7 separate regions of the Homo sapiens genome follow, and regions 2, 3, 4, 5, 6 and 7 are each linked to region 1. Evidence: promoter capture Hi-C in 16 types of primary human blood cells and fetal thymus (Javierre and others, 2016). All regions are on one chromosome and are shown on one strand. The core of a region is centred on a gene start or on the middle of the fragment in contact, and the rest is flanking DNA. Distances in the headings are between cores, read along the strand shown. Region 1 holds the start of EIF1B (eukaryotic translation initiation factor 1B). Region 2 has its middle 44 kb from the start of CTNNB1. Region 3 holds the start of LOC105377037 (a long non-coding RNA gene). Region 4 overlaps CTNNB1 (catenin beta 1). Region 5 overlaps LOC107986075 (a long non-coding RNA gene). Region 6 has its middle 26 kb from the start of MOBP. Region 7 has its middle 74 kb from the start of CTNNB1.

The links. Contacts are between HindIII fragments. The CHiCAGO score rates a contact against its expected background, and 5 or more counts as called.
Region 2: a fragment that was not itself captured here is called in contact with the fragment with the promoter of EIF1B in region 1 in 4 of 17 cell types (monocytes, naive CD8 T cells, total B cells and 1 more); the score reaches 7.3 in monocytes.
Region 3: a contact is called between a fragment that was not itself captured here and the fragment with the promoter of EIF1B in region 1, in 4 of 17 cell types (non-activated CD4 T cells, naive CD4 T cells, naive CD8 T cells and 1 more). The highest score is 8.3, in non-activated CD4 T cells.
Region 4: a fragment that was not itself captured here is called in contact with the fragment with the promoter of EIF1B in region 1 in 8 of 17 cell types (neutrophils, total CD4 T cells, naive CD8 T cells and 5 more); the score reaches 9.4 in neutrophils.
Region 5: a fragment that was not itself captured here is called in contact with the fragment with the promoter of EIF1B in region 1 in 2 of 17 cell types (erythroblasts and naive CD4 T cells); the score reaches 10.3 in erythroblasts.
Region 6: a fragment that was not itself captured here is called in contact with the fragment with the promoter of EIF1B in region 1 in 2 of 17 cell types (erythroblasts and total CD8 T cells); the score reaches 6.8 in erythroblasts.
Region 7: a fragment that was not itself captured here is called in contact with the fragment with the promoter of EIF1B in region 1 in 1 of 17 cell types (monocytes); the score reaches 6.6 in monocytes.

Annotation. Positions count from the first base shown.
Region 1 is chr3:40,307,306-40,311,510 of GRCh38, forward strand. EIF1B (eukaryotic translation initiation factor 1B) reads left to right here and starts at 2,402. Exons shown (of 4, transcript NM_005875.3): 1 at 2,402-2,667; 2 at 3,588-3,751; 3 at 4,165-4,205. The coding sequence starts at 2,637. It overlaps EIF1B-AS1 (EIF1B antisense RNA 1), which reads right to left and starts at 2,393. Exons shown (of 3, transcript NR_033965.1): 1 at 2,018-2,393. It overlaps LOC124906228 (a long non-coding RNA gene), which reads right to left and starts at 1,506. Exons shown (of 2, transcript XR_007095876.1): 1 at 1-1,506. RefSeq lists an enhancer at 2,133-2,492 and a silencer at 2,763-2,812. The HindIII fragment of the contact is 2,965 bases long and covers 774-3,738 here.
Region 2 is chr3:41,241,157-41,245,361 of GRCh38, forward strand. No RefSeq gene overlaps it. Among named protein-coding and RNA genes, the nearest start is that of CTNNB1, 44 kb to the left of the region's middle. The HindIII fragment of the contact is 1,189 bases long and covers 1,364-2,552 here.
Region 3 is chr3:39,375,930-39,380,134 of GRCh38, forward strand. LOC105377037 (a long non-coding RNA gene) reads left to right here and starts at 583. Exons shown (of 3, transcript XR_001740661.3): 1 at 583-651; 2 at 1,547-1,748. It overlaps LOC105377644 (a long non-coding RNA gene), which reads right to left. Exons shown (of 3, transcript XR_007096252.1): 3 at 3,502-4,205. RefSeq lists a silencer at 2,273-2,322. The HindIII fragment of the contact is 8,755 bases long and covers 1-4,205 here.
Region 4 is chr3:41,219,263-41,223,467 of GRCh38, forward strand. All of the region lies in intron 1 of CTNNB1 (catenin beta 1), which reads left to right. Among named protein-coding and RNA genes, the nearest start is that of CTNNB1, 22 kb to the left of the region's middle. The HindIII fragment of the contact is 8,015 bases long and covers 1-4,205 here.
Region 5 is chr3:39,420,124-39,424,328 of GRCh38, forward strand. It overlaps LOC107986075 (a long non-coding RNA gene), which reads left to right. Exons shown (of 2, transcript XR_001740663.2): 1 at 1-591; 2 at 3,679-4,205. Among named protein-coding and RNA genes, the nearest start is that of SNORA62, 11 kb to the left of the region's middle. The HindIII fragment of the contact is 4,098 bases long and covers 106-4,203 here.
Region 6 is chr3:39,439,802-39,444,006 of GRCh38, forward strand. No RefSeq gene overlaps it. Among named protein-coding and RNA genes, the nearest start is that of MOBP, 26 kb to the right of the region's middle. The HindIII fragment of the contact is 6,817 bases long and covers 1-4,205 here.
Region 7 is chr3:41,123,478-41,127,682 of GRCh38, forward strand. No RefSeq gene overlaps it. Among named protein-coding and RNA genes, the nearest start is that of CTNNB1, 74 kb to the right of the region's middle. The HindIII fragment of the contact is 4,712 bases long and covers 1-4,205 here.

The DNA of each region.
Region 1 (4,205 bases), core at 1,152-3,651:
AATCAGCTATACTGCAAGTACTCAATGGCCACATGTGGCTAGTGGTTTCTGTACTGGACACTGCAGGTCTAAACACAAAGACTATGAATCATGAGAGTTAGAAGAGCCTTAAGAACCACAACTGTATCTAATCTGTATTCATATTGGCTTTGATTAAAGATTTCTGAGCTCCTGGGGGTTTCTTTTTTCTTTCTTTTTTTTTTTTTTTCTCACTCCTGAAGGTTTCTGATGCAAACACTAAATCTAAGAAAAGTGAGTTCTCCTGACAGGGGTAATGACCATGAAACCCTAAGATTTCTGGAATTTTTCTTTTAATTTCTCTGTGTTTGTAGTTTTTTCTTCACTGGATCACCTTTGGCTTCTTCTGAGAAATAAAGTAATATAAAATACTCATGTACATCTACTAAGAAAGAAAGGAAACAAATAGAGATGCATTATCTAGATTACAAATTATTTAGAAATTAGAGTGTTAGAGTATTAACATAGGGCACAAAATTGAACTAATAAAATTACTTTAAAGCACACTTATTTAGATATTTTGATGCTCCTTGTTTTGGAGCCAGCTCTAAACTTTACACCTCAATTTGGGATACGAAGAGTGTTTTCCATTTGAACCAGAGCTGGAAGACCACAAATGTGGTTAGATTTCTGAGAGTTAAGAATTTGATTTTTTTTTCAGGCATTAACCTACAAAAGCCTTCATTTCCACACCTGGTGCATAGAGTAATGCTTACCTTATAAAATAGCTATGAAGATTAATAATGTTATATATAAGCTTTGTAACAGGCAAACAGTAAGTACTAAATAAATGGCACTTATCATCATTGTTAATTACAAAAGATTGTCAAATCCAGGTATTCTTAACCTGCGGTCTGCAGATCCTTGGCTCATGGATAAAACTGCAGGGGTGGAGATCCCTAAAATTGGATGGGGAAAGATTATATCTGCATTTTCATTAACCTCTAAGCAAAATTTACCATTTCTTTCCATTATGAATAAAGGCAACATCATAGTGATAGAAGGACCTGTCACTTCGCACCAACAGAAGTTACACATACTTTCATATTAAATTTCTGATGTTACGGACATCACAAAATATCTCTTACATTTATCAGCTTTTTGAAATTATAGTATTAGACCTAATCTTGCTAGATCTTATTAGTGTATTAATAAAGAAATACACGTTATTAATGTATTTTTTAAATTTCAATATAATTGGTTTCCTTTGTAATCCTATGTACTTTGTGAACTTAAAACTTAACTTCTCATTATTCTGAGAAGGGATTCAGCAGCTTCACAGGATTGCCATGGCACACACAAAAAAGTTAAGAATCCCTAAATTTTAGTCTATCTCTTTGCTTCCAGAAAGCCAACCAAGTTTGACAATTGAACACACCTGCCTGAGTGAGCCAATTCCCAAAGTCTCGGGTTTATTTTTCTGTGCGTGACCTGATAGGAAGATATTACGGTCTGGTACATGACTCCATCAATTAACCTATTTGCTGAGCTCACCTTCAGCTTATACCTGGCATCTTTCCTGAATTCTCTGTTGGGCCTTCTGAGGCACACAAAATGAGCTGACAAGCTGATTTTCTGGTATCTTCTGTTCATACACACCTGGCCCCCACTCGATGCCAGGCCCAGGATTAAGCTGGGCAGTGATTCTCAAGCCTGATCCCAGACCAGCAGGCAGGATCAGCATCACCAAGGAGCTTATGAGAATTGCAGATTTTCAGGTCACACCCTAGACTTCCTGAAACAGAAACTCTGGGGTCTATCAGTGTTTTCTCAAGCCCTCCAGAGACACACGCTTTAGTCTGAGATCCACCGTGCTAGGGAATCGGAGGTCCGTCCAATCCTGGAAAGAGAGGCTCCCATCTCCAGTATTGGTTGAGACTAACACCGCTCCTGCAACTGGGGTTGGAATTTCAATGCAGGTAGTTGCTGAGCGGGGGCCAATGAGTTGAAAGCCGGAGCAAGGGGACTTGTTTTGTTCCTGCACCCCGATTTTACTTACATTACCCGGGGCCTCGAGGGTGACTCATAGAGATTAGCCCTGAGCGTCGACCCCTCGGCGCCGCCACTGCACAGCGAGAGAAGGGGAGTCAAGAGAGACGCTTGAGTCCCTTGACTGTCCTCCCCTACGAGCTCTCTGGGAAGAGAGCCCCAGACCTGCGAACTCTGGGCCGCTCTGCGGCCGCTTGAACACTTCGCGGGTCTTCCGCCCCGCGCTAGAGGACGCACTCCGTGACGGGAATTGCGGTCTCGGCCGCCCCCGGCCTCAGGCTTTCCGGGCTCTGCTGCCTCCAGAAAACTACAAGTCCCAGGATGCTCGGCGCGGGACGGTCACGTGGGAGGGGCCGCGGGCGCGGCTAAATAGTCTCCATCGGCCATTTTGTGCGAGAAGCCGCAGCGCCGCCTCTTCTCTCGCGCCCTCGCCTCTTCCTCCGCCTCCTCCTTCGCCTCTTCCTGCCTCCTCCCGGCTTCCGCCGCCGCCACTCCAGCCTAATCCCAACCCCAGGGCGAAGCGTTTTCTTATTTATTTCCGTTTTCTCGCCACTACAGCCTCCTGACAAGGTGATCCGGGCGGGCCCCGCAGGAATTTTATCCCCTCACCGGCCTCACACTAGTATCGCATGTCCACTATCCAGAACCTCCAATCTTTCGGTAAGATCCCGTCGCCGCCGCCTCCCTCCCTTGCCCGGCGCGCATCTCGGCCTTTTGCCCGCCTGGCCACCGCCCCTAGGGGCCCCCTTTCTGCCCTTCCCGCACCCCTAGTGGGGCTTTGTCTCGGCGCCCAGAAAATGGCGACGGGGCCCCTGGCGACCCCTTCCCCGAGGACAGCGCCGGACTCCGAGCCCTCCTCTCGGAGCCCCGGCCGCGGGCCCTGCGCCACCCCCTGCCCCGTCCTTGACCCGGCTCTCGCCTCCGCTTCTGCCCCTTGAAACCTTGGCGATCCTATTTCGTGGACTCCTAGATCGGCCCTGCTACTTGCAAAGGGTATGCCGGGCCAGGGAAACCAGGGATCGGCGCCCGTTCTCTGGCAGCTCCTGGGGGCACTTAGGGAAAGATGCGGATGCAAGCCTCTGATCTGTCACTGGCCAGTGGTTCAGTCTTCTCTGCTTGCGTAGCAATTTGTTAAATTACGCCTCTTGATATATATGTAATCTACTTTTTTTTTGGCAAGGCACAGTTACGGTTAAATGATTAAGGTGGGCGTATTCGAATGTTTATGTTTTCATCAGAATGTAATCGAGATGACGCACATTTTTATAGCGGCTACAATATTAAGGTTTTCTAAATCTTTTTCTCATTAGAGGACCATATTGAACGATAACATTATTTATCTATAACAGCGTTTTTCTACAATGGACATAGCTGTTCAAATGTTTCTCTTTTTGTGAGAGTATCTTGGGGGTTTTATTAATACTCCACCCCCATCTCCATTCCTACCGGCAAAAACAGCAAAGGCACTAGAACCTTCATTGATGACTGTCTGGATTGGTAGTATAATGTATTTCTGGAAAGTACTTCTTAAAAAATATTTTTCTACTTTGGATTTTTTTTTTTTTTTTATCCATTCGCAGACCCCTTTGCTGATGCAACTAAGGGTGACGACTTACTCCCGGCAGGGACTGAGGATTACATTCATATAAGAATCCAGCAACGGAACGGCAGAAAGACACTGACTACTGTTCAGGGCATTGCAGATGATTATGACAAAAAGAAACTTGTGAAAGCTTTCAAAAAGGTAAAGGGATTAGGAAGAAAGGATTAGAGTTACTGATGCACACCTCTGAACTGGATTATGATTCACACCTTTATATCGGCGTGGATGAAAATAACTAGACCAAGAAAGTTGTTCTCATTTTTGTAATTAACATGTAAATATTTAGTTATTCTCCCAGTGTGGTCTCTCATTTTAAAAGAAGATTCGCGTTGCTTTTAAATAAATTTAAATGTGAAATATTTAGTTCTTGATGTTACACATAAAATCATTTCCTGGTTTACAAATTAATTTGGAAGGATTGTGGATTATAGGAGACAAAATCTGTTTCTCTAAATATGATCTAGCTTACTGAAATGGCTAATTCTGTTCATACGGTGAAATAAAACCTCATAGTAGTTGACTAAATTTTGTTGTATATTTATGCACTTTTCCAGAAATTTGCCTGTAATGGTACTGTGATTGAACATCCTGAATA
Region 2 (4,205 bases), core at 708-3,207, 930 kb after region 1:
TATTAATTATGAGAAAAACATACATTCAGTTCTTTTTCGTTAAAAATCAGCTTCATCTGGGGAGGCCTTTTTGTGAATGCCCTTGCTTTGCAAAAATGAATTCATTGTGGTCTAAAATGTAATTAGGGTTTGAAAAGAAACATTCACATAGCTGATGATGTGGTAGGTCTCAGGTTCTGTCTCATGTGTGATAAACCAAACCAGCCAGTATTTCAAGAAGCCTAGGGCTATTGGTAGGTTAACACCGTGAAGATCTTCAGTGAATTCAGCTTTTAACATAAAGAGCCACCGCACGGTGTTTCAATTACAGAAAGAACAACTTTTTAAAACCAGAGAATGTTTTCAGAGCTTTGCTAATTCATTGTATTTTATTTTTGAAGTTTAAAAACTTAATGTGAGAGTTAATCCAGTTCAACAAGGTGGCTCTGGAAGTACCAAGGGTGAATAATAGCCAAGACGCTTAGGAAAAATAGCACTTGCTCTAGCAGCTGTCAAGGCCTAACTACTTAATACAAAGCTAAAGTTAGTTAACCCTGTTACAGGAATAGGGATATAAATACAGATTAATACAGAATAATACACAGGCATTTAAAGACTCTTCAGAGACAGCGTTGGAGATCCGAGTGGGAGGAGAGCAACTTTTTCATAAAGGTGTGAAACAGCCGTTGGAATAAAACAATACAGAAAAACATCCATGACCCAACAAAATATCAAGATTTTAAATAAAGGCAGTAGTACTGATTTTTCTTTTGCCTCAAGCGCCAGTAAGGCTTGGTAGGGCACAACGCTGACAGTCTACACTGGACGCCCATGTGTCCAACAATCTCTGTTCACACGAGACAGTGCAGTGAAAAACTACAGCTTCAGTGATGTGGGTGTCAGTATAGTATGCATATATCTATCTCACATAACACTGAACAAAAGCAAGTTACAGATGCATGCTTTAGAACTCCATTGATCATCAATTAAAAAAAGGGACAAGCTATTTTAAGGAAAATATCCACAGATGGAGCAAGGAGATGATTAGATGACTATAGAAATCAGAATAATGGTTAACCTGGAGAGGGAGGTGCATGGGATGCTGGCAAGGTACCTAACCTTTCCTGTAAATAGTGGTGAAGAAAGTGAGGTCAAGTTTTCAATAAGAGAAGTAGTGGTGGGGAGGAAAAGGCCTAAAAGGAATGCTGCCCACTTGCATTTCCGGGTACAGGAGGTGAAAATGACAAAATGAACATGGCCGTTGAGAATAGGAGGGCTTTCCAGCCTGAGTGTTCTTTTTTCAGTTGTGCTGTAGTTATGAGACAGCCTTGAGAGTTAAGACATTTGATCCCATTGCAGCAACCACCATTGAACCAAAGAAGGAAGCTTTTCTATGTTGGAGCAGATCTTACAGACATGAGGCTTTGAAATCTGATGATCTGAATCCTTAATAATGAAAGATCTTAAGATAAACACACTCTTTAACTCTTGGTTGCTATAATAAAAAGATGTGAATTGTGCTGTTTTGTTTATAAAGCAAAAATGCTAAGTTGATCTGCAGTTCTATTAAGTGAGAACCTGCCTTTCCTTGCCTTGAGCAGATCACCCACCAAAGTGAAATTATGAAATGATGGGGCTGCAGGGGCTGTCAGGGCAGTTCTTCCTTTTTCTTTTATCGCAGCCTCCTATGTGGAATTCTGTATAATATCCATTCCACCACTTGAGACTCCAGTAAACGTAGAAGGAAGTGACAAGTTTCAGAGTTGAGGTTGTGGGGGAAGGTCAGAACAGGTATAGGGGTATGCAGGAAGGCAAAGGAGAAACCCCATCTCTATGTATTTCCAAAGTAGGTTTTGGCATGAATAGGGAAAGGTCCGTGTGTCCATAAATGTAATTTCCATGTTAGGTACGACTGAGAGCCACTCTGTGACAAAGCAGTTCTACTCAGAATTATTTGAGGTATACTCACGAGTATGTACAAGGAATTCATTGCAACACTGTCAAAGATAGCAACCCAAATAGGTGTCAAAAGGGAACCTAACTAGTTAAGCAAATTTTGATGCATCTATTTGGTGGACCACTCTGCAGTCAAAGGGGGGAAAAAAAACCAGCCCATAAAGCTGTGTTTTGGAATAAAATGGTCTTCAAAATACATAGTAAGAGAAAAAGCAAGGAGCAGAGTTGACAGCTGCTCACATATGGGTAAAAAGGGGTGGGTGCAGAATCTTTGTGAAGATAGGCATAGACCATCCCTGGATGCACACGAAGACCCTAGTGGCAATGGGCACCTTGCAGGAGGAGACAGGGAGAGGACTAACAGCGTGTGAGGGAGGAACTCTGCTGTCTATCTTTTGGGTGTTTTCACCAGGCTTCATTTGTACCAGGCTTCTGGATTGGATATCACCATTCAAATGTAATTATTTATTAAAACACCTAATGGATGCATTTGTCCACCCGCCTCAACATCAAGCCTCTGATGGGAGAGGCCAGAGGCTGGATTTTAAGGGCAGATTAAAACTCCTCGTTCTAGGCCCAGCTTCTTGCTCCCACACACCACTTCTCAACCCCACTGAAGCTTGAGGCCAAGGCTGCCTAGCTTTGCCTAGTCTCGCCCAACCCCACTCCAGACAGCTGTCCCAAGAGGCCAAGCCTCTTGTAGCTTTCTTGCAGCCTCTTCCCCCGTTCCCTACCACTTGCTACCGTAGCCCCTGTATGTATAAGATTATATTCTACATTGCATTTTTCTGTTGCCAGGGGAAAGAGAAAGGGCATCTTGCTTCAGGTGGAGACAGGTGAGACCTGGTGAGGGAGATTCCTCTCCCATCACCTTGTACGAGAGCCTTAGCTACCAGAGCCCCCATTTTCTCAACTATAACACAGGGATGATGCCCGCCCTGTGTTCACAGAACCGACCTGAGAACCTCATAGGAGAAACTTGAAAAGATAAACTGCAAAGAACCATAAGATAGTAAATTCTGTTGCTGCATTCCACTGACTCACCTACTTAGGTGCCATGAGTGATTGTCAGCACCTTTCAGGACACCTGTGACCAGAGTTACCCCAAATGGTGCTTCACGGAGGGACAGCTTAATGGGGATGCAGACTCGGCTGTAAGTTAAGGCAAGGTCTTAGAACTTTGGGCTTGCTGTTAGTGGAGGGAGAGGAATAGACCTGTGTGCAGCCACTCACCTGAGCCGCCTCTGCCCTATTGCTTGTCACCTCCTTTGCCTCTCACCTCTGTGACTTCAGTGACCCATTCATCCCTGAAGAGAGCCAGTGGATTGTAGCTAATAAGCAGATAGCTGAAGCTTGGGGATGGAGGGAAGGAGAGGGCTAGTAGGTGTGGGCCCTTTGCCACTGCCAGAATCCTAAGAGCTGAGGGGCCCGGGGGGCCAGCTCTGCTCTCAGAATGGAGCCACTTAGGCATGCCAAATACTAAGGTACAGGCCTGGGGAGGGCAGGGAAGGGTTACTGCTGTTAGCTGCCCTCTGCCCAACCAGTCTGCTCATATCCCCTACCTCTGAACTCAAATGGACCTGGGCTGCTGCTTTCCATAGGCACCTTTCCTCCAGGACACAGCCTCACCAGGGACAAGGCTTGGCATGGACTAGCTTTAGTGGCCCAACATGTTTGGCAGGGCAGTGGCTCTGCTTGGGACCATCATCTCCTTGTCCTTGCTTACCCAGATAAGCTTTTCCCCAGACAGGCAACACCGGGGCCTAGGGCCAGGACTGGCCCACTGAACAAAATGGCTCTGGAATATTAAGAGTTTCCTGTTCTCTGTTAAACAGCGAAGACGACTCCTTGCTCAAGTGAGAAGGGGAAATAAGAAGAATCTTCCATTGCTCTGAAATACCCTGAGAGGACTCCAGACCCAGAACCCCATGGGCGTTACCCCCACCCAAGAACTAAAGGGAGACGGCAAAGAAAACAGACCTCAGCCTGTTCCTGTATCCAGCAGGCAAAGCCACTGGAGCTGAGAACCAAGCCTCTGGCTGCTCCATCAAGTACTCCCCACTCAATCCCAGAAGTGCAGGCAAAACCAGCCAGGCCAGGGCCACATGGGCACACACAGCTGGAGATGAGCACACCACCCAGGAGGACTTTAAATAGTGAAGCCTCCTCACCGTGGGCACTAAGTAGGCCATGTGAGGTCAAATGAAGCTGCCTGTTCCTGGGTCACACTCTTAGAGGGCACACTCTCATATCCCAATTAGTCACAGCCC
Region 3 (4,205 bases), core at 923-3,422, 930 kb before region 1:
ATTTTCATGAGTAACCTCATCCCAAAAAAGATTTCAGTCCAGGCTTCGTTAATATAATCATTGCTTAAAAAATTCTTTGGGCTCAAACTGGAGAAGGAGAGATTTTTTTCCTGTTGAATTCAGATGAAACTAGCATCTTGGAATGCTTGCTCTGGCAGGTACTGAGCCAGGTCCATTCACATTATCACTACCTCATGCAGTTTGCACAGCAATTTGCAGGGAGGGTGGTGTTATTCTCATTTTTACACATTTGAACATTGATGCTCAGAGCAGTTAAGTGACAAGCAGCAGTAAGTGTGGCATATTAATGGGAAAAAGTTTCCGAGATTGAATTCAAATGCCACTACCATCCACTAGCTCACAAAAGAAGAGCTTCCTGCAGAATGGCAGTAACAATTGTTGATCATTCCTTCACACCTGACCCCTCGCCTTTAAGAACTTGTCTATTTATAAGTAATTTAAGAAGCTATGTTTCTCTCCATCTGTTTAGGTAGAGAAGAGCATATAGAGGGAATTGTGAGTAAGCCAGATTAATGCACCAGAAAAAGTAGAAACTGCACCAGAAAAAGTAGAAACTGCACCAGAAAAAGTAGAAACTGTACCAAGAACAGGAAGGACGGATTGGCACCAGTGAATTCAAACAATAACCAGGTAGAAGATAAAAGAAGGTGTTGTCATGTGATGGATTATCCAAAATTCCCAGTGGGGAGGACTAGCTATCTGGACTCAATCATCTACTCTGTCTCCCAGAAAAGGGAGTCTCTGGTTGAGCCGCCTTTTTTTTTTTTTTTTTTTTGAGATGGAGTCTCACTCTGTCGCCCAGGCTGAAGTGCAGTGGCGCGATCTCGGCTCACTGCAACCTCCACCTCCCGGGTTCACACCATTCTGCTGCCTCAGCCTCCCGAGTAGCTGGGACTACAGGCAACCACCACCATGCCCGGCTAATTTTTTGTATTTTTAGTAGGGATGGGGTTTCACTGTGTTAGCCAGGATGATGGCTGAGCCTTCTGATTGTAATAGGACAGTAAGGAGATAAAATAAACTACATAGTCAAACAAGGTGAACCGTCTTAGAAGCAGAACCTGAAGGAACTGGGGAGCAGGAGAGGGAGGCACAGAGGAGCTGGAAGCTGAAAGGAAACAGGCAGGGGAAAGAATGTGTCTTTGAATTGCATATCAGCAAGGCTCTCCAGTGTGAGTGAGACTTGACCAGTTTGTAACTTCCCGTGTACGGAAATCCTTCTAACATGCAAATCTGACCCTTTCATTCTCCTGCTTAAACCTCTTCAGCATAAAGCCTACATTCTCCTACATGGTTGATGGAGGGCCCCAGGCTCTCCCTCTGGCCTCCTCCCTTCCATTCCTTCCCTCCTACTAGACGTTTCCACATTTACAGTTCTAGGAATCTGACATGCTCTCTCTTACCTCTGGGTATTTGTACATGCTCTGCAAGATGAAAACAGACTCATCTATTAGTAAATGCTTGAATGAATGAGTCAAATCGGAAGGTACTGGGGACAGTCCACCACCCCTTTTGGACTTTTCAGGTCTCAAGCAGTAGCCACCTCCAGTCTGATACAAAGGATTACTCCCTCCCCAGTGCCAGCTGGAGCCCCATCATGGTGAGGCTCTACAATGAGTTCATGGAGAAGACTGTGGATGGGTCATGGACAAGACTTCCAGGTTGTTGGTGCTCTGTGCAATTCCTTAAAGAAGCAGACCTTACTAAGATTGCTAAAGCTGTCCCTGGTATGTTGAAACCCCCTACACCAGTAGGGTTTAACTGGGCTTGCAGGGGTGCTCTAAATAATACAGAACTGTTGGCAAAACTTTGTTTATGCATATGCATTTTCCTCAGTGCAATCTGTGCCCCAGCCTATCTCCTATATCTCCTCTGTGGCTTGCATTAGCCTGAAAGTCAGGACCAAGGGAGTCTGGAGATCATGATCCCTGATTCATATGATATTAGCCCAGAAAAGGAACTTGGAGCCACTTAGTTCAAGGCCCTCATCTTACACGTGAGAAAGCTGAAGCCTAGAGAGGTGACAATGAGTTTTTGTCAGATATTGGACTAGCATCAGAAACTCCTGACTTTTAGTTCAGTGTTCTCTCCACTTCTATCCGAAGCCACTCCTGGCATCTCCTTATACTTTCCCACCACAGCTGGTCTCCTGTATAGACCAGACAGATGAAGCATACATGAGGAATTGGAAAGGGGCAGCGTCTGGGACCAAGGGCCAGTGCCTTCACCCTGGTACACCCAAGGCCAGTAGCTCAGTGACAATGCCAGTGGGACTATCAGGTAATTTACAGACACCTGAAGCCAGGACCCAGAACCTGTTGGGAACAGGACACGTGTTCCCTCTAGTGGCCAGTTTGAGCTGAGCTTCTGACTGGGTGAAAGAGAACAGATGGGAAAGAATGGCAGATGATGGAGTGCCACGCGTGTTAAGAAACAAAGGGGCCAGAGGGAAAGACTTCTAATTTACATACCTAATCTGTCATTAGAAATTCTGCTTTGAGATTTTTGGTAAAAATGCAGATGTTTGGTAAGTATTTGGAATTAAAAAAACATAGACACAGGGTCTTGCTCTGTCACCCAGGCTGGAGTGCAGTGGTGCAGTCATAGTTTGCTGCAGCCTTGAACTCCTGGGCTCAAGAGACTGTCCTGCCTCCACCTTCCGAGTAGCTGGGACTACAGGCTCATTCCACCACACCTGGCTACTGTTTTTATTTTTGTAGAGACAAGGTCTTGTTATGTTGCCCAGGCTGGTCTTGAACTCTTGGGCTCAAGAGATCCTGCTGTCTCGTCCTCCCAAAATGCTGGGATTACAAGCCGGAGCCACTGAATCTACCCTAAGTATTTAATTTTATATATGGGAGGCTTCACTCTTGACCTCTAATTAAGGCCCATAAACTGGCCAGGCGCAGTGGCTCACATCTGTAATCCCAGCAATTTGGGAGGCCGAGGCAGGCAATCACCTGAGGTAAGGAGTTTGAGACCAGCCTGGCCAACATGGTGAAACTCCATCTCTACTAAAAAAACAAAAATTAGCTGGGCGTGGTGATGTGCGCCTGTAATCCCAGCTACTCAGGAGGCTGAGGCAGGAGAATCACTTGAGCCCGGGAGGCGGCGGTTGCAGTGAGCTGAGATTACACCATTGCACTCCAGCCTGGGCAATAGCACAAGACTTATCTCAAAATAACAAACAAGAAAGTTGAGGTGAATACACAGCTAGCAGGTGACAAATCCAGGATCAAATACAGAATCAATGCCTGATTCCAAAGTCCACTTTCTTTTTACAGCATTACTCTGCCTCAGTGGTCTCTCAAAGACACACAGAAAAAAGCAGGAGATAGCCTCTACCCTTTAAGGAAGGGAAACAAGGTGTATTTGTCAGGGAAATATGTGTCCTGATTTTCTTTCATCCAGATTATGAAAGATAATCTCCTTTACTTAAAGTCAACTGATTACAGAGGTTAACCACATCTACAAAATACCTTCACAGCAACACCTGGATTAGTGTTTAATTGAAAACTGGGTATTATAGCCTAGCCAAGTTGACACATAAAACTGACTGTTACACAAGATGCTGCTTATAAATGAAGTCATTCTGTCCAAGATAAAGAAAAGCTGGCCTGGCATGGTGGCTCATGCCTGGAATCCCAGCACTTTGGGAGGCCAAAGTGGGCGGATCACCTGAGGTCGGGAGTTTGAGACCAGCCTGACCAACATTTTGCTAATTTTGCTAAATGCAAAATTAGCCAGGCGTGGTGGCGCATGCCTATAATCCCAGCTACTCAGGAGGCTAAAGCAGGAGAATTGCATGAACCCAGGAGGCGGAGGTTGTGGTGAGCCGGGATCGCAGCATTGCACTCCAGCCTGGACAACGAGAGTGAAACTCTGTCTCCAAAAAAAAAAAAAAAAAAACCTTCCACATATGGATAGAGCTATAAGCAAACCACAAAACCACAAGTGGGTCCTGCTTACCCCTGTGGGAAATTCAGATCAATCAGGACCTAGAAGATTTGTGACCAGAAAATATGTGCTTATGTTTATAAACTTTTAGCCAAAATGTTGCCCGTTTCCTCATTGTGAAGAAAGCAGGAAAACAAGAAGAGTTTGATTTTTTCCATAAGATGGGGAACTGCTTTGTCAAAATATTGATGGAGTGACTTGTGGCTTCCATATGACAAAACACAAAA
Region 4 (4,205 bases), core at 864-3,363, 910 kb after region 1:
GTATTTATTTTAGGATTATGTTACTGATCAAAGATGCTGTGTGGAGTTACTCATTGGTGAGACTAACAATAAATCACACATGCAAAGGATGTTACCATAATCTAATTATTTTAAACAGTAAAATTATATTCTAAGACATCCAGTTGGCCTATATGTGCTATATCAATGACTATCAAGGGGCTTTTTATGTATACTGTATACATGTACTTCACAAAAATATAAAAGGATGACATCAAAAATCTGGCAAGCCAAAAGCCTACATTACATGTAGCAAATAAATAAGCATATGAACTTATTGGAATTTAAAACCCTGTAGGATGGGCGGGTGATGGTATGTATGTTAGATGTGTGGACATATCTATTAAAAGTTGTGTCAGATAACAGCTGGTGCTGACAAGCCCTTGGTAAGATGGCAGCATGTTCAATATGTTCTGTGAAAATTATCTCAGTTTATGATCTGTCAGTATTGTGGAGCTATGCATGAAAGGACTTAAAATTCTTACCCTTAAACTCAGTAACAGTGTTTCTAGAACTTCTGGTGATATGGGAAATTAAGAGAATTATTTATATGCAAAGGTGTTTATTGCAGCATTGTTGGAATAATAGACAAAATGGGGAAGAACAAGCTCAGAATGGAGGAGGTAGCTTATAGTATAGACATACGATACAATCCAGATGATAATATTTTATAATAGTCTTCACAAGGAATTTTATATTTTTATTTTTAAAAATACATAGCAGTGAGTTTAATATACCAAACATACCAAAATGTCATCATTTACTGTGTGGTGGACTCATATGATGGAGATGATAAATAAAAATATTAATTTATTTGAGGCATATATTTATGGCTGAGGAAGGAAGACAGTTATGAAGAACAGCTCATTCTGGAAACATACTAATTTTTCCCAGCCATAAAGAGATTTCCTATTTCTTTTTTTTTTCCATTTACCTTCTGTTTCCTACCTGAGAAGATTTCATACTTCTAATAACCATTTGTGTACCTATTTAAAGACAGTACCAAAGGCATACATTTTAGTGTTTGGAGGACCAAGGGTCATTTGATGTTTGATGCTTATTGACTATTCGAGGATGACAAGACACCTTGAGAACACACACACCCACACCCACACCCACACCCTCACCCACCCACCCCACCCCCCTCCCCGAAGAAAGCTGTGAAGGAAGAAAGCAGAAAAGAACCTGGAGTGAGTTGTAACTTAAAATGTTAGTGTTGCATGAAGTGTGTTAAAACAGGAAGATTTGAGGAAATTGCATACATTTTCTAGATGGCAAAGTATTACTGGTGACAGTTAATGAAAATGCATATGCATGTGTTTTTAGATTTACAAATTTTACTAAGAACTTTTTAAAAATCCCTGAAGGTGTATCAAAAGTTTATCATGCTTATGAAATAGAGTAGCACTTTCTAACTTTAAAACGGGGAATAATTCTTTGGATCTTGATTATTGGAAAAGTGAATTATGAATTGCTAGTATAAAACTGTGGTTTTAAAATATGTCTGCTTTATATTTTTATGTAGCAGATTTACTCCTAGTTAATAATACTCAAACTTACTGAAAACTAAGGTAATTAAGATAATTCTGTCCTGATGGGAAGAGGAAAAATAACTTCAGTGTGAAATCTATTATATATTAGTTGTGGCAAGATTTCTCCCATTGACTTTGACTGGAGACATTTATAGGGTTAAAATCGGAAATAGCACGGTGAATTTTGAAGTATCCTTGTAGTTGGAAAGAGTATTATGTTCATATTGCCAAAAAAAAGATGCATGGATGCATTAGACTGGATGGAAAATACATGAGAAGTTGGCTAGCCCCCTCTTTGTCAAAACATCACTTGGTGGTGATAAAGCTGTTGGAAAACACAGCATTCTAATGTAGTCTGTAGTTTAATGATAATCTGTGTCTTGAAACATTTAGCGTAGTACTTATACAAACCTAGATGGCATAGTGTACTGCATGCCTAGCCTATATAGTATAGCCTGTTGCTTCTAGGGTGTAAAGCTGTATAGCGTGTTACTATAGGCAGTTGAAACAGTGGTATTTATGTATCCTTTTTTTTTTTTTTAAATTCTTTTAAGAGACAGGGTCTTGCTCTGTTGCCCAGGCTGGATGCATTGGTGTGATCATAGCTCACTATAACCTTGAACTCCTAAGTGATCCTCTTTGCCTCAGCCTCCCCAGTGGCTAGGACTACAGGCACATACTACCACACCTGGCTAATTTTTAACATTTTTTTGTAGAGATGGAATTTCGCTGTGTTGTCCAGGCTGGTCTTGGAACTCTTGTGCTGCAGCAATCCACCCGCCTCCCAAAGTGTTAGAATTACAAGCCACTTCGCCTGGCTTGTTTACCTAAACATAGAAAAGATCCAGTAAAAATACAGAATTAAAATCTTGTGGGGCCACTGTAGCATATGTAGTCCATCTTGACTGAAATGTCCTTATGCAGTGCATGATTGTACTTCATAATTTTTAAGCACTCCTCCCTCTTGATTGGTACTTAGTGGATTTTATCATTTTTGTTTCTTCATAATTCTTTCTGAAATGTCTACTGGTTGGACCTTTGATCTCCTGAATTGATCGTGATTTCTTCTGTTGTATTTTTTGTCTTTGTCATTTTTTTGTACTCTAGGCAGTTTTCTCAATTTTAGTTTCTATTCAACTTTTTGTTTTTATTTATTCTCTCCAGTATTTATGGAGATACTAAATTGAAGTGTTCTGTTTCTCTCTCCACCCTATCCCTAGTTTCAAGTTTTATCTCAGTTTCTATGGAGTCAGTTTTTTCGTTGCTTTAAAAAAAAATTTTCCTGAAGTGATTGGTAAGTTTTGGCTAATTGGGAGCACTAGAATTGGGCCCTTAATGGTTGGCAGGGTGTGGTGGAGGAGAGACAGCCCTTAGTCCAAAGGCTCAGGCCAGAAAAAGAAAGAGGAAGGCTTTCCTTTTCCTTTCCGGAGCAGGGTTCTGCCCTAGGTCTTGCTTGGCAGTCTATTTGATTTCTTTAGCAGTTAATGCTCAGTTTTTTGGCATATGTGGATCTGCCTCCAGAGCAGGTACAAGGTGAGTGAGTCTATGCTGTTACCTAATTAGATCCCCATTTCTACCCTTTGTTTTTACTTCTCTATCTACTGATAGGTTTTTACCCTCCTTCACCTCATAGGGTTGCAGTGAAGAGCAAGATGAATTTTTATTTATGTTGCATAAATTTTAAAAGCTAAAAAATATATATGTAATGTTGGGAAGTCCCAGTGTACAAATGGCTATTGTAAATTTGGAACATGAACTTGCTTTTTTCCATTGTAAAAATGAAATCATTATAAATTGCGGTCAAGTTACTAGGTCAGCCCACACAGAGTTTACCCAGTAATATGCGTAAATGTTTTGCCTTTGCATCAACAACAAGGAAAAACAGTACTATAAAAAAATGTTCCTGGAAGCCGGATGTATCAAAGCACTTCTGAAATAGCTATATAGCCTATAGACATGACCAGTTGGTTTCTGAGTCTGTTGACATTGGCCAAAGGAGAAGCTCAGTGTAGAACATGTTTGGAGTCTCCTTTTGCAGAAATACATTGGAGGCTGGAGTGGGGAACCAATTTTTCAGAAAGGTGGTGAAGTAGTTACATAGCCACTCTTTTAAAGACAGTCAAAAGATAGAAACTAAGGCCAGGTGTTGGCTCACATCTGAGATAGGAAAATCACTTGAACCTGGGAGGCGGAGGTTGCAGTGAGCCCAGTATGCACCTCTGCACTCCAGCCTGGTTTGGCAAGAGACCAAAACTCTGTCTCAAAAAAAAACAAAACATAGTTCACACTTAAATATTTTATTCCATATCTTTACATACCCAATATGTTAATTTATAGTTCAAGATGAACTTGTTTGGGACAGATTTTGTAATAAAGGAAATCGTGTTATTAGAAATATCTAGAGGCCATGAGCCCTTAAACTGTTCTAATTTGCAAGTAGTTCCCTGTGTGATGCAGTTTTTTTCAATATTGCACAATAAAGGCAAAATACGGACAAATTAGATGATAAGATTTATATAAATTTTTAAAATATTGATCAAAATATGTATCCATATTGGTAATATTTGTATTTATAATAAATCATTGCTGTAAATTTGAACTTAGAAAAATTTTACTAATAAAGGTGCTTTTGTGTTGCAAACTTTCATTTGAAAA
Region 5 (4,205 bases), core at 905-3,404, 890 kb before region 1:
AAGACAAAGCCTGTGACCTTGTGGCAGTTATCTGGAGAGGCAGATAACAAGTGAACAATTTATTTACTATGGAAACAGAAGTGAGGATGATGGAAACATGAGGAAAGCTTTTGTCTAAAGCAAGAATCACAGGCATCAGCCTATAGAAACAGGACAAATGGAGAAAATCACTGGAGAGAATGACAGCAAAGAAACCCCTCCAGAGAGAAGAGGTCTCAGTCCAGCCTCACACCAAGTAGAGCCTCATCAAAACGTTCTGTTCTCATAGGGAGTTGGGGGCCTGTACCAGAGGCCATGAAGTCTCTTGGAGTCCATGCTATGTGAGTGGTGCACATCTCCACTGCCCAACCCATAGAAAACTCACCTAAGTTTTCTCTTTTCTCTTCTATAGATATTTTTGGAAATGAGTTGGGGACAAGGAAAAAGCTATCATTGCACAGACATCTACCCCAATTCTGCCTCCTGCTGCACTCTCACTGAGAGACAATGGTCCAAGAAGCACTCTCCCCTCTCCATGGCTGGCTAGCTAGGTTCACATTGGTGCAAAGAGCACTCGACATTGCCAGAAGTGTGCATCATCATGTCCCCATGGTAAGGCCCTCTCACCACCTCTCCTCAGTGACTCAGCTCTGCATTTTCTTCCATCCGATACTCTTATCTCAACCCAAGGGGTGTCTTCCATTTATGATGTGCAAAAGAAAGGTACAGTCTTTAGCATGAGAAAGTAGTCCCTTAGACCATCATGGTGGCACACAAGACTCTGCACAGGCCATCAAGTCTGAAGAAATGAATGGGCTAGTTTGACATTTGTTTCAAAATCCCTTACAGGGAAATTTTTTTGGTATTACTGTATATCATTTCATATAGATATATTTCTTTTAAGTAAGTTGTCTTTTTAAGACAATATCTAGTTATTGACAATGTGCTTTTGCCATTTAGAAATAAAGAATATGATCATTGCAATTTAAAACCCAATGAGCAGAAAAAATAATAAGACACTGTTGTAGAAAGGTTTGATGAATTAGAAAAAATATATGAAAACAATTATTCATAAGGAGAACAGAGAGAGGAGGAAAAAAAATACAAAAGAGGAGATACAAAGAGAGTAAAATTAGAGAGTCAAACTGTCTAATTGGAGTTCCAGAGAGAGAGAAGAGAGAATAAAGAAGTCAGTGTCAAATAGATATGACTAAGAAATTCTCATGAATCTACAAATAGATATGATCCGAAATTCTCATGAATCTACAAATTCAGGAATTCCAATGTGTAGTAAGTGGAAATGGTTTTTAAAACCCCATTCTTATTTACATTGTTAAAGAATCCTGAAATGCCAAAACCAAAAGTGTTCTTGAAAGAAGCCAAGGAGAAAAGGAAGGACACCTGACTGTTCCCCATCAATGGTGACAGCTAGGGGACAGTAGAATGAGAAAAACAAATGGCTAACTGACTCTGTCATTGAAGAATTAGGACAATATAATGACTTTTCCAAAAAACAAAAGTTAGTAAGGAAAAAAGAAAATGAAGGCAAAAGAAAGCTGCGGCCAGGATGAACACCAATGTTTATGAGGATTTCTCAGTCATATCTATTGAACACCCATGTTCATCCTCCTTTCTTCCATACTAACAGAGCCTGTGAGTTTTCACTGAGCACAGGCTGAAAAGCTGGTGCCTCACATTACATGGTGGTAAAATGTTGGGTCAGGTTTTGGAGCCTGCATTGCTTTGGAGGGTAGACCAAAATTTGATCAAATCTGTGGCATTAGGAAAATGGTAGGAGAGATCCAGAGTGACGGTCTGTGTGACTCTTGGCTGCTTTAAGCATAGTCCTATGAGAGACAAGAACTCTGGCTAGATCTGGCCAGCCTACAAGCAGAAGTGAAAGGACCTAGAATTGTGCTAATGCAGGCATTTTCTGTCTTGGTCCGCAATATACAGAGTCAAACACTATTTACCCACCTCAAGCAGTTATGAGCTACGTATCTGAAGGGACAGACTCCACAGGAGATAACACTCTTGCCCTTTGGAAAGGTAGCATGCATTAAGGTGAGATTAAGGTAGGGTTAAAGGAGTTGTTTTCCATTCCAAACCTACCATAAACAAGAAAAAAGCCCCAGCCTGGCCAACATGACAAAACCCCATCTCTACATAAGCATAACAAAATTAACGCAAGTGTGGTGGCAGGCACCTGTAATCCCAGCTACTCGGGAGGCTAAGGCAGGAGAATCACTTGAACCTGGGAGGCGAAGGTTGCAATGAGCTGACACTGCGCCACTGCACTCCAGCCTGGGCGACAGAGCAAGACTTCGTCTCAAAAAAAAAAAAATGAAAAAAGTCTGGCAAAATCAGATAATGGTAACAAGGATTTGGAACAAGAACTCCTATACTAGGTGGTGGGAGTATAAATTGGTACAGTTTGGCATTCTTTAGTAACATAAGCATCTATATTATTGCCCTTGAAGGTATACACTAAAGAAAATCATGCACATTTGCACTAGGGTATGTGGACAAGAATTCTAATTGACAAACTTGGAAGTAGCTCTGGGTCCATCTACAGTACTGTTGATAAACTATTGTATATTTATACCACAAAGTGCCAATCAGTGATGAAATTAAACATATCATGGCTACATGCAATGACATGTATGAATCGTACAAATTTGGGCAAAATAAGTGTAACAATATTATTCCTAATATGTGATTCCATTTGTGAAAAGTTCAAAAACAAGCAAAGGTAAGCTATATCTATATCTATATCTATATCTATATCTATGTCTATGTCTATGTCTATGTCTATATCTATATCTATCTATCTATCTATTTTTTTGAGATGGAGTTTTGCTTTATTGCCCAGGCTGGAGTACAGTGGTACAATCTCAGCTTACTGCAACCTTCACCTCCCAGGTTCAAGCGGTTCTTCTGCCTCAGCCTCCCAAATAGCTGGGACTACAGGTGTGCACCACCATGCCTGGCTGATTTTTGTATCTTTAGTAGAGACGGTGTTTCACCATGATGGCCAGGCTGGTCTCAAACTCTTTACCTCAGGTGATTCACCTGCCTTGGCCTCCCAAAGTGTTGGGATTACAGGTGTGAGCCACTGCACCCAGCCTAGCTATATTCTTTAGAGATATATTCCTTGGTGGCAAACATTAGACTGTGTAAATCAGTAACAAGATTTCTAATATATGGGGTAAAAAACAAGCAAGATAAAAGCAATCAACAAAATATTTACAAAGAGTATAGGCTGGGTGTGGTGGCTCATGCCTGTAACTCCAACACTTCAGGAGGCCAAAGCAGGAGAATCTCCTGAGCCCAGGAGTTCCAGATCAGCCTTGGCAATGTAGCAAGACCCTGTCTCTAATAATAATGATAAAAATTTTAAAACGGGTATGGAGGTTATGTGAAAGATAAAGTGTTTTGAGGTCTTTGTTAATGAGAGAGTTTAAAATATCAACTTCAGACCATAAATGTCTCTCATTCTACATGCTTATCTTAACATGACATTGTCACTATCCAATGGGTGGAATCTATGTCCCCTCCCTTTCAGCCTTGGTAGAAGTTCCAACTTCCTCAAGTAATAAGATAGAATGGAAATGATGCTATGTGTTTTTCAAAGATATGCCATAAAAATGCCATTCCCTTTTGTCTGGGTCCCTTGGGACATTTGCTCTTGAAACTCAGCCATCTTCCAGTGAGGAAGCCTGAGCAGCTGGGGAGAGGCCCATATGGAGAAGAACCAAAGTCCCCAGTCCCCAGCCCCAGACCAGCTGAATTCCCAGCTAACATCCAGCACTAACTTGCCAGCCAAGAGAATGACCTGTATTGAAAGTGGATTGTCCAGCCCCAGTTGGAGCCATCTCAGCAGTTGCCATGTGGAGCAGATGCAAGTCATTCCTGTCAAACTCTGTGCTTATTTGTGAGCAAAAGAAATAATTGTTTTTGTTTTAATCAACTTAGCTTTCAGGGAGTTTGTTACTGAGCAATAGATAACTGATACAATGGAAAAATTCTAGAGGCATTTTCACTAAAGTCAGAAACAAGACATGGATAACCCACTATCACCACTCCTCTATATCATAGCAGTGAACTTATCAGGTAATGTAACTAGGTGAAAGTAACTTTTTATATACACAATATATGGCCAACTGACCTTCTCTTTAGAATTAACAATAAGCATTTCTCTAAATGCTCTTAGAATTTACAATAAG
Region 6 (4,205 bases), core at 597-3,096, 870 kb before region 1:
ATAAATCACCTTTGCTCAGCTTTGGGACTAAACCCTCTGTGAAACCAGCAGACAATGTCATCATTTTCTCCTGCTTCCCTCTCCAGATTCATTCCATTTTCTTCCTATTAAAATTCTACCCTCTAGGCATGCAGCTCACCTTGAGGGTCCCTGATCACTCTCCCTTCTAGGACTTCACAGACACTCTCCTCTTTTCTCTGCAGCTTTTTGTTCCATTTTTGCATATGGCAGCTTGGACAGTTTTCTTTGGAGAGTGGGAAGAATAACATATTTTTGTTTTATTATTAAAAAATACATTGTCCAGGCCAGGTGCAGTGGCTTACGCCTGTAATCCCAGCACTTTGGGAGGCTGAGGTGGGTAGATCATTTGAGGGCAGGAGTTCGAGACCAGCCTGGCCAACATGGTGAAACCCCGTCTCTACTAAAAATACAAAAGTTAGCCGGGCGTGGTGGCAGCTGCCTGTAGTCCCAGCTACTCGGGAGGCTGAGGCAGGAGAATCACTTGAGCCCAGGAGGCAGAGATTGCAGTGAGCTGAGATTGCGCCATCGTACTCCAGCCTGGGCGACAGAGTGAGACTGTCTCAAAAACAAAACAAAACAAAACATTGTCCAGTGCAGTGGCTCATGTCTATAATCTCAACACTTTGGGAGGCTGAGGTAGGAAGATTGCTTGAGCCTGGGAGTTTGAGGCCAGCTTGGGCAACACAGGGAAACCCGGTCTCTACAAAAACTTAAAAATTAGGCAGTGTGGTGGTGCATACCTGTAGTCCCAGCTACTTGGGAGGCTGAGGCGGGAGGATCGCTGGAGCCCAGGAGTTTGAGGTTGCTGTGAGCTATGACTGCACTACTGCACTCCAGCCTGAGTGGGAGAGTGAGAACTTGTCTTTTTTTTTTTTTTGAGACGGCGTCTTGCTCTGTCGCCCAGACTGGAGTGCTGTGGTGCAACCTTGGCTCACTGCAACCTCCGCCTCCTGGGTTCAAGTAATTCTCTGCCTCAGCCTCCCGAGTAGCTGGGATTACAGGCGCCCACGACCATGCCCAGCTAATTTTTTGTATTTTTAGTAGAGACAGGGTTTCACCATGTTGGTCAGGCTGGTCTGGAACTCCTGACCTCGTGATCCACCCACCTCGGCTTCCCAAAGTACTGGGATTACAGGCGTGAACCACTGCGCCCGGCGGAGACCTTGTCTTTTTTTTTTTTCTGTTTTTTTTAAAGTTTCAACAAAAATGAAATACCACCTGCTGATAACTCTAATAAAAAGAAAAATATATAATAGGTATTTGCTTTAAAGATTGTTTTTTTTTTTTTTTTTTTTTTTTTTTGAGGCAGGGTTTCACTCTGTTCCCCACGCTGGAGTGCAGTGGTGCAATCTCGGCTCACTGCAACCTCTGCCTCCCGGGTTCAAGCGATTTTCCTGCCTCAGCCACCCGAGTAGCTGGGATTATAGGTATGTGTCACCACGCCTGGGTAATTTTTGTATTTTTAGTACAGATGGGTTTTCGCCATGTTAGCCAGGCTGGTCTCAAACTTCTGACCTTAGGTGATCCACTCGCCTCGGCCTCCCAAAGTGTTGGGATTACAAGCGTGAGCCACTGCACCCAGTCCTAAAGATATTCTTGAAAAAATCATAATTGCAGTTGTTTACATTGTTGTGTTGCCAGCTCTCAGTTATTATGCTCATATTCTTTATTCTATGTAATATGTGTGGAAAAAATTTAAATCCTAGGTTGCTCCTGGCGTAACTCTGTAGACTCAACATCTGGAACTCTTTCTCTATTTTCAAGTTAATGTATTCTCAGAGCATGCAAAATAATTTGAATGACTGCCTAAGGAAGCACTAATACATGCTAAAACATTATGTTTTCTATAGCTAAAGAGCCCTTTGCAGCCACAGTTTTTTCAAATATTCCTAGAAAACAAGATCTGGCTGAACTGAAAATACTGATAGTATAATCAATAAGTTAGACTTGTTAAACAAAGAGTAAAGAAATGCAACATCTGAATTCTTTAAAGCCACAAGCCAGAGGAACAGATCTAAAGCACTGACTACTTAAAGCATTTTCTATCTTCAAACTTCTAGAAAAACAAATATTACAGAAGCCTTCTGTTCTATTTCACAAATCCTGACTGGTTTGAAGTGAAAGGAAATCAAGACACTAAACAAGTCAAGAAAAAAACCTTAAATACCATAAAATATTTATTAAAAAGACATTATAATTTGCAATGTATTTTGCAGGGAAAAAATGGAAGCAGGAATTGAATGCCTAGCTTTGAAAAATGGAAGCAGGAATTGAATGCCTAGCTATGAAACCAGTAGGCCTCTGAGAGTTTCACTGTATTTGCAAAATAAGGGATTTGGTTACATGATCTCCAAGTTTTATTTTCTGCCAAATAGTCCGTGGGTAACCAGGCTTCAGAGTTCCCCAAATGGTCTGATGAAACCCAATGTGGGAATGGACAAAGAAGTAAGGCTGCCTCCCAGGGTCACTCAGCTGCATGGTGACAGGATGGAGGCTGGTGCCTGCACCTCTGAAAAGAAGGGCAAAGCCTTCTTTGCATTGCACTTCCAGGCATGGATCACACTGATGCAGCCTGGTTCATTTATCCCTAGCTGTGCCTTCAACAGCAGCTGACAGATGATGGGACAAGTTCTGATACAACTCACAGCCCTAAGCATGATTGGGACCTGCAGTGCTCAAATCTGTACAAAGGTTAGTGGGATTGGTAATTAGAATGCAAAGTTATACTCTGTGTGATTAACAAAGATGCTGCAGATGCTGATAGATGTGACAAGCTCCTTATTTGCATGCCTGGATGCTAGCCCTCCCTTTCACTGTTTAGTTTTTCCAATCTCTGGTTCCATGAGACCAAGTCTTTAGCTTCACCTATAATGACTTTGCTCTACTATGTATCACTGGAATTGGGCATGAATATATTTGAAATCTCCAAATGTTCAAGCATAACATTTTTTTTCCTTTAGTAATCAAAGAGACTGTTACACATTTATACAATCTATTATATGCTATGTGCATAATCTGTCCATGTTATTATTAAAAATAGAATATTTCTCACAACTAATAATAAACTAAAATGGAAAGACTGGATAACATTCAATTTCTTATTGATTTAGTCTCTGAATGATTTTCCTTTAATAAAAGTATCATGTTTGTTAATGATTCCATTCATAATCTCTCTTTTAGAAAACATAGGCCAGGTGCGGTGGCTCAGGCCTATAAACCCAACACTTTGGAGGTCGAGGCGGGCAGATCACTTGAGGTCAGAAGTTCGAGACCAGCCTGTCCAATAAGGTGAAATCCTGTTTCTACTAAAAAAAAAAAAAAGCCGGGCGTGTTGGTGGGTACCTGTAATCCCAGCTACTAGGGAGGCTGAGGCAGAAGAATAGCTTGAACCCGAGAGGCAAAGGTTGCCATGAGCTATGATTGCACCACTGCACTCCAGCCTGGGCGACACAGTGAGACTCTGTTTCGAAAAAAGAAAAAGAAAAAAATATAATGTCTCATACAGAGGCTACATAAAATTTCCAGTGTTAGAACAAAGCCACTAATACCCAAATGTGGTCCTTTGCTCCCTTGGCATTGGAAGTTGTGGGCCTGTCACCCCTGGACTCCTGGGGTTGTGTGCAGAAGGGGGTGACCTGTAGAGCATTGCTGGTCCTGCACTGGAAAGTGATGGAAGTCTGAGATGAGGAAAACAGGGCAGACTCCCTCATTGCTGGAGGACAGTGGCGTGGTCGCCATTTCACAGTGCTGTTGGAAGAGGCATCTGTTGGAGCTCTGCAGAGGCTGGAAGAGTTCCCTGAGCCCATAGTTCTTACCTGGGTCTGCGGTCAAGAGCAGCACTGTGATGCAACGCTTCACTGAAGGGCATCCTGATGCCTAGTTGAGGACATCAGGGGAGCCAGGGCTCCCTCTGCAGGGAGGGAATGGGGCAGGGAGAGAGAGAGAGAACTGGGTCTATCCTGTGAGCACCTCTGTCCTGGGCACTGGGTCCTCTCTGCACCCACTCCTCTCTTCCCATCAACCCCTGAATAGGGCTCCAGAGGCCAGAACTGGAATGGGGAATCTGTGTCCCTACTCATTCCTTCAGACCCAGCTTGGAAATCTTTTCCCAAGAAGATTTTCAGGCTCCCAGCTCCCTGCTGAATGAAATGCCCTCTTCTACGTTCTTACAGCATCCTTTGCTA
Region 7 (4,205 bases), core at 786-3,285, 820 kb after region 1:
CACACTGATATAAATAAATAATTTAATAAATCAATAAATAACAGAGAAGGAACAGCTCTTCCTTACAGAATTCTAATTAATAGGTGTACGAGGAATAATAGAAATAGAAAATCACCATTTGAGCTGGGCGCAGTGGGCTTACTCCCGTAATCCCAGCACTTTGGGAGGCTGAAGTAGGAGGATCACTTGAGCCCCGGAGTTTGAGACCAGCCAGTCAACATGGTGAGACACTCATCTCTACAAGAAAAAATTTTTTTAATTAATCAGGCATGGTGGCACACACCTGTGGTCCCAGTTACTGAGGAGGCTGAGGTGGGAGGATCACCTGAGCCCAGGTGGTCGAGGCTGCAGTGAGCTGTGACTGTACCACTGCACTCCAGCCTGGGCAACAGAACAAAACCCTGTCTCCAAAACAAAAAAGAAAGAAAGAAAATCACCACTTGGCAATTACCACACTAAGGGTTGTAGGCAATAATGTGAAGCTAATGCTAAAATTAGCAGACAGATGCATGCTGAGAACAGGATATTTACATAATCTTAAACTATCTCCCCACAAGATACCTATTAATTAGAAAGGGAACAATAGTAACTTTATAGTGGGGAGACCTGACAGACACCACCAAGCCATCAAAGTTAAGATCACCGACAATAAAACATGCTGACATTACACCTTTCAAACCCACATTAAGAGACATTCTACAAAATGACTGGCTAACGTTTTTTATTTATCTATTTATTTTTATTTTTTTGAGATGAGGTCTCACTCTGTCACCCAGGCTGGAGTGCAGTGGTGCGATATTGGCTCACTGCCGCCTCTGCCTCCCAGGTTCAAGTGATTCCTGTGTCTCAGCCTTGTGAGTAGCTGGGACTACAGGCCCGCACCACCACATCCAGCTAATTTTTGTATTTTTAGTAGAGATGAGGTGTCACCATGTTGGCCAGGCTGGTCTTGAACTCTGTCTGGCCTCCCGAAGTGCTGGGATTACAGGCGTGAGCCACTGCGCCCAGCCTGGCTAACATTTTTCAAAAGCACCATGGTGACAAAAGGCAAAGAAAGACTGAGGAAATTTCCCAGATTAAAGGAGACTAAGGAGACACAACAACTAAATGTAATGCAGGATCCTGAATTGAATCCTGGACCAGAAAAAAGAGCATTAGTGGGACAATTGGCAAAATATGAATAAAGTCTGTAGATTGGCTAATAGGGTGACATCAACATTAATTTATTGGTTTTTATCCTTGTACCATCATTATACAAGATGTTAACATTAAGAGAAGTTGAGTGAACAGCACACAAGAGCTCTGTATGGCTTCAGCAACTTTTTTGGAAATCTGAAATTATTTCAAAATAATAAGTAAAAAAATATGGGGGGGAAAATGCCTGCACTGTTTCCTCACCTTAATTATCAAAGCACCTGGGGGACTGTTTTGGAAAGTTTGTTTCATTTCTTTCTGTCCCTTCCAGGCTGTAAGCCTCTCCACGGACAGGCTAGTTCACTTTGGGATCCCTGTGGTGCTGATGTACAGGAATTTTCATATAATTTGCTCCTCCAACACCCACCCCTTGCAATATGAGGACCATTGCTTAGAAGTGGAAAGGGAGCCTATGGAGAAAATTCTGGACTTAGAGAATAGTGCTGCTTGAATATCACCATATGTTTTATAAAAAGAAAGGGCAGTACAGAGATAGCATGATAGGTAGATCATTTGCAAAACTGGGCACAATTCCCCCACCCTTTCCTAATCCATGTCCCTTTGCAATGTACCTTTCCAGATCCCTCTATCCCTTCCCCTGGCATCTGTGTTGGACTTGTACACACTTTGACCAACAGGCAGAAGAGGTGATACTGAACCAGTTTTGAGCCTGCTCATTCTCTTTGAACCGTATCCACCCACCTAGTGCAAAAACCTGGGCTAGCTGCTAGAAGATAAGAGGTCACATGATGCAAAGACAAGCCAACAGCCAGCCAACCATTTGAAAGAAATGATATTTTATGAATGAGCTTGCTAACTGACCACAGGCTCATGAGTGAGTCCAAACAAGACCAGAAGAACCACTTGGCTGAGCCCAGCCCAAATTGCTGACTCACAACATCACACGCTAAATAATTGGTTGATGTTTTAAACCACAAAGTTTTGGCATTGTCTGTTACACAGCAATGGATGACTGACATAGTAGCAAGACTCTTATAGCTCTATATCCTATATCTCCTATAGTTCTAAGCTCAGAAACTAATGCTAATTACCCTCTTTTTGCCTCAAATAGACAAATGCAAAGACATAGATCCTTGTTTTTAAAAAAGGAAAGCTACAACCAAAATAATCCCAGAGCAGTCTCTCCTCCTGAAAGAGAGAATTTGGACCACTCCTCCCCAAAAGAAAGGCAACCCATGCAAAGGGGTCACACTTGATAAGGAAGCAAAACACGGGCAAGGCCAGCTGGGCAACTCCTCAGTAAAAAGATATTTAATATCAGGGGTCTCTGGGGGTAATGGAGGCAGAATGGAAGGGTAGTGGGAGGAAGTGACTGAATAATCTCCCTGCATAAATCTTGTCTACACCTTCTCCCTGAGGGATGGCCAGCAATCTCCTGAGGCTCGAGTTGCAGGGCAGAAGCTGTCCTAGGCTGCAGGAAGCCCAGAGGAATTAAGCAGGCTGGGCTGAGGTCAGCACACAGAAGTACATCCCAAAGGACTGCCAGAGAGAGAAAGACAGGAGGGGGACATGAGTGACCAGAGGACTAGAAGGGTGAGACAGGAGGGTATGTGAGGGCTACAGGGGACACCAGCCATAGGATCCCTTGAGCTTGAGCTGGAGGCCTCCCAGAGGCTAGGAACAGGATGGGCAAAACTCCCAGGAGATGAGATTACTAGCTAAAATTCCAGGTAAGCCCCCAGCAAGAGTTGCCTTATTTGATTCTTCAGGGCTTCACAGTCCATTCCCATGTGCTTAGGGCCCTCATGGCAGAGCTCAAAGACAAAGCTCAAGGAGCTAGGTTAGCACAGTACAGAGAGGGATTTAGATCTCTGAATGGTGTTGAGTGTCTGTCGTCATAGAATTGGTGGCTATTGCATGCTTTATCTGTTTCCACAAAAGACAGGCTCAGTCATTGCTTCAAGGTACATGCCCAACACCCACTTGGATGCTATGAGAGACAAGCTCAATATTTATTCTGTTCTGTCTCCTTGGTAAGGATTCAGCACTGGTCACTGACTGGAATATCCTGTCTTTACTTGCCTCGTGACATAGGTACACTCCGTAAAGTGATAGCTTGTCGTATTCTCACAAAGTACCTTCTTGCCCTGGTCACAAAGGAAATGGCCTCTTGTGCCCCTTCCCCAGCTCTGACCCCCCAGCATGAGGACTCTGCTTTTTCCAGGAATTGGCTATCATCTGGCCACTGAGCTGAGAAACACACAACACAGCTACACAGATCGCAAGAAAACAATACTCATTAAATATCAGACTGTTCCAATACTTGAACTAAGGAGTCACTTATGGTATGTTCTGCACTGGGAGGAAGAAGCAGGAATAAAGGGAATGAGTTAGGAACAAAATAGTCCAAAGAACTATCGTAGTCAAGATTTCCTATTAGGTGGGCAGTCAACAGACCACACAGGGAGAGGCATTCATTGACAAAGGTCATCTCAGTAGACAGGAATCACCCAACCACATCCCTCACCTGGGACTCCCTCCTGCCCCATCTCAGCCCTCCTTGGTGCCACCAGCCAAGCTCCCCAGAGTGCTGCATGCTGCACTTGGCTGGAAGCTAAACTTGGGTTTATTCCAGCTCTGCTCAGCTCTTTCTCTGTTTTTCCCCCTCAAGATGTAAGACAGCTATTAAAATAAACAGCAGGGCTCTCAGCCATACATGCTGTTTGTTAATTCTTATGATTAACCCTGAAGGGGCCAATAAAGAATAACCTCATACTTAATTATTTAATGATGGTCTCCCCTCCCAAGCCTGAGCTGTCCTGCTCCTTGAGGCCACTCTGAAGGGTTTAATGTGAGCTGGAAAGCCAAGAGCCACAGTCCCTGGGAGATCCATCTGCCTTCAGGGGCTTGCCAATGGACAGGTGGGCATAGGGGTGCCAAGGTTGATACCTGACAGAAGGTGAGGATTTTCTGGGGTGAATCAAATTTGTGCCAAGCATCATCATCACTTGGAATAAGGCCCTTCTTTATATGGTCCAGGCTTCATGTGT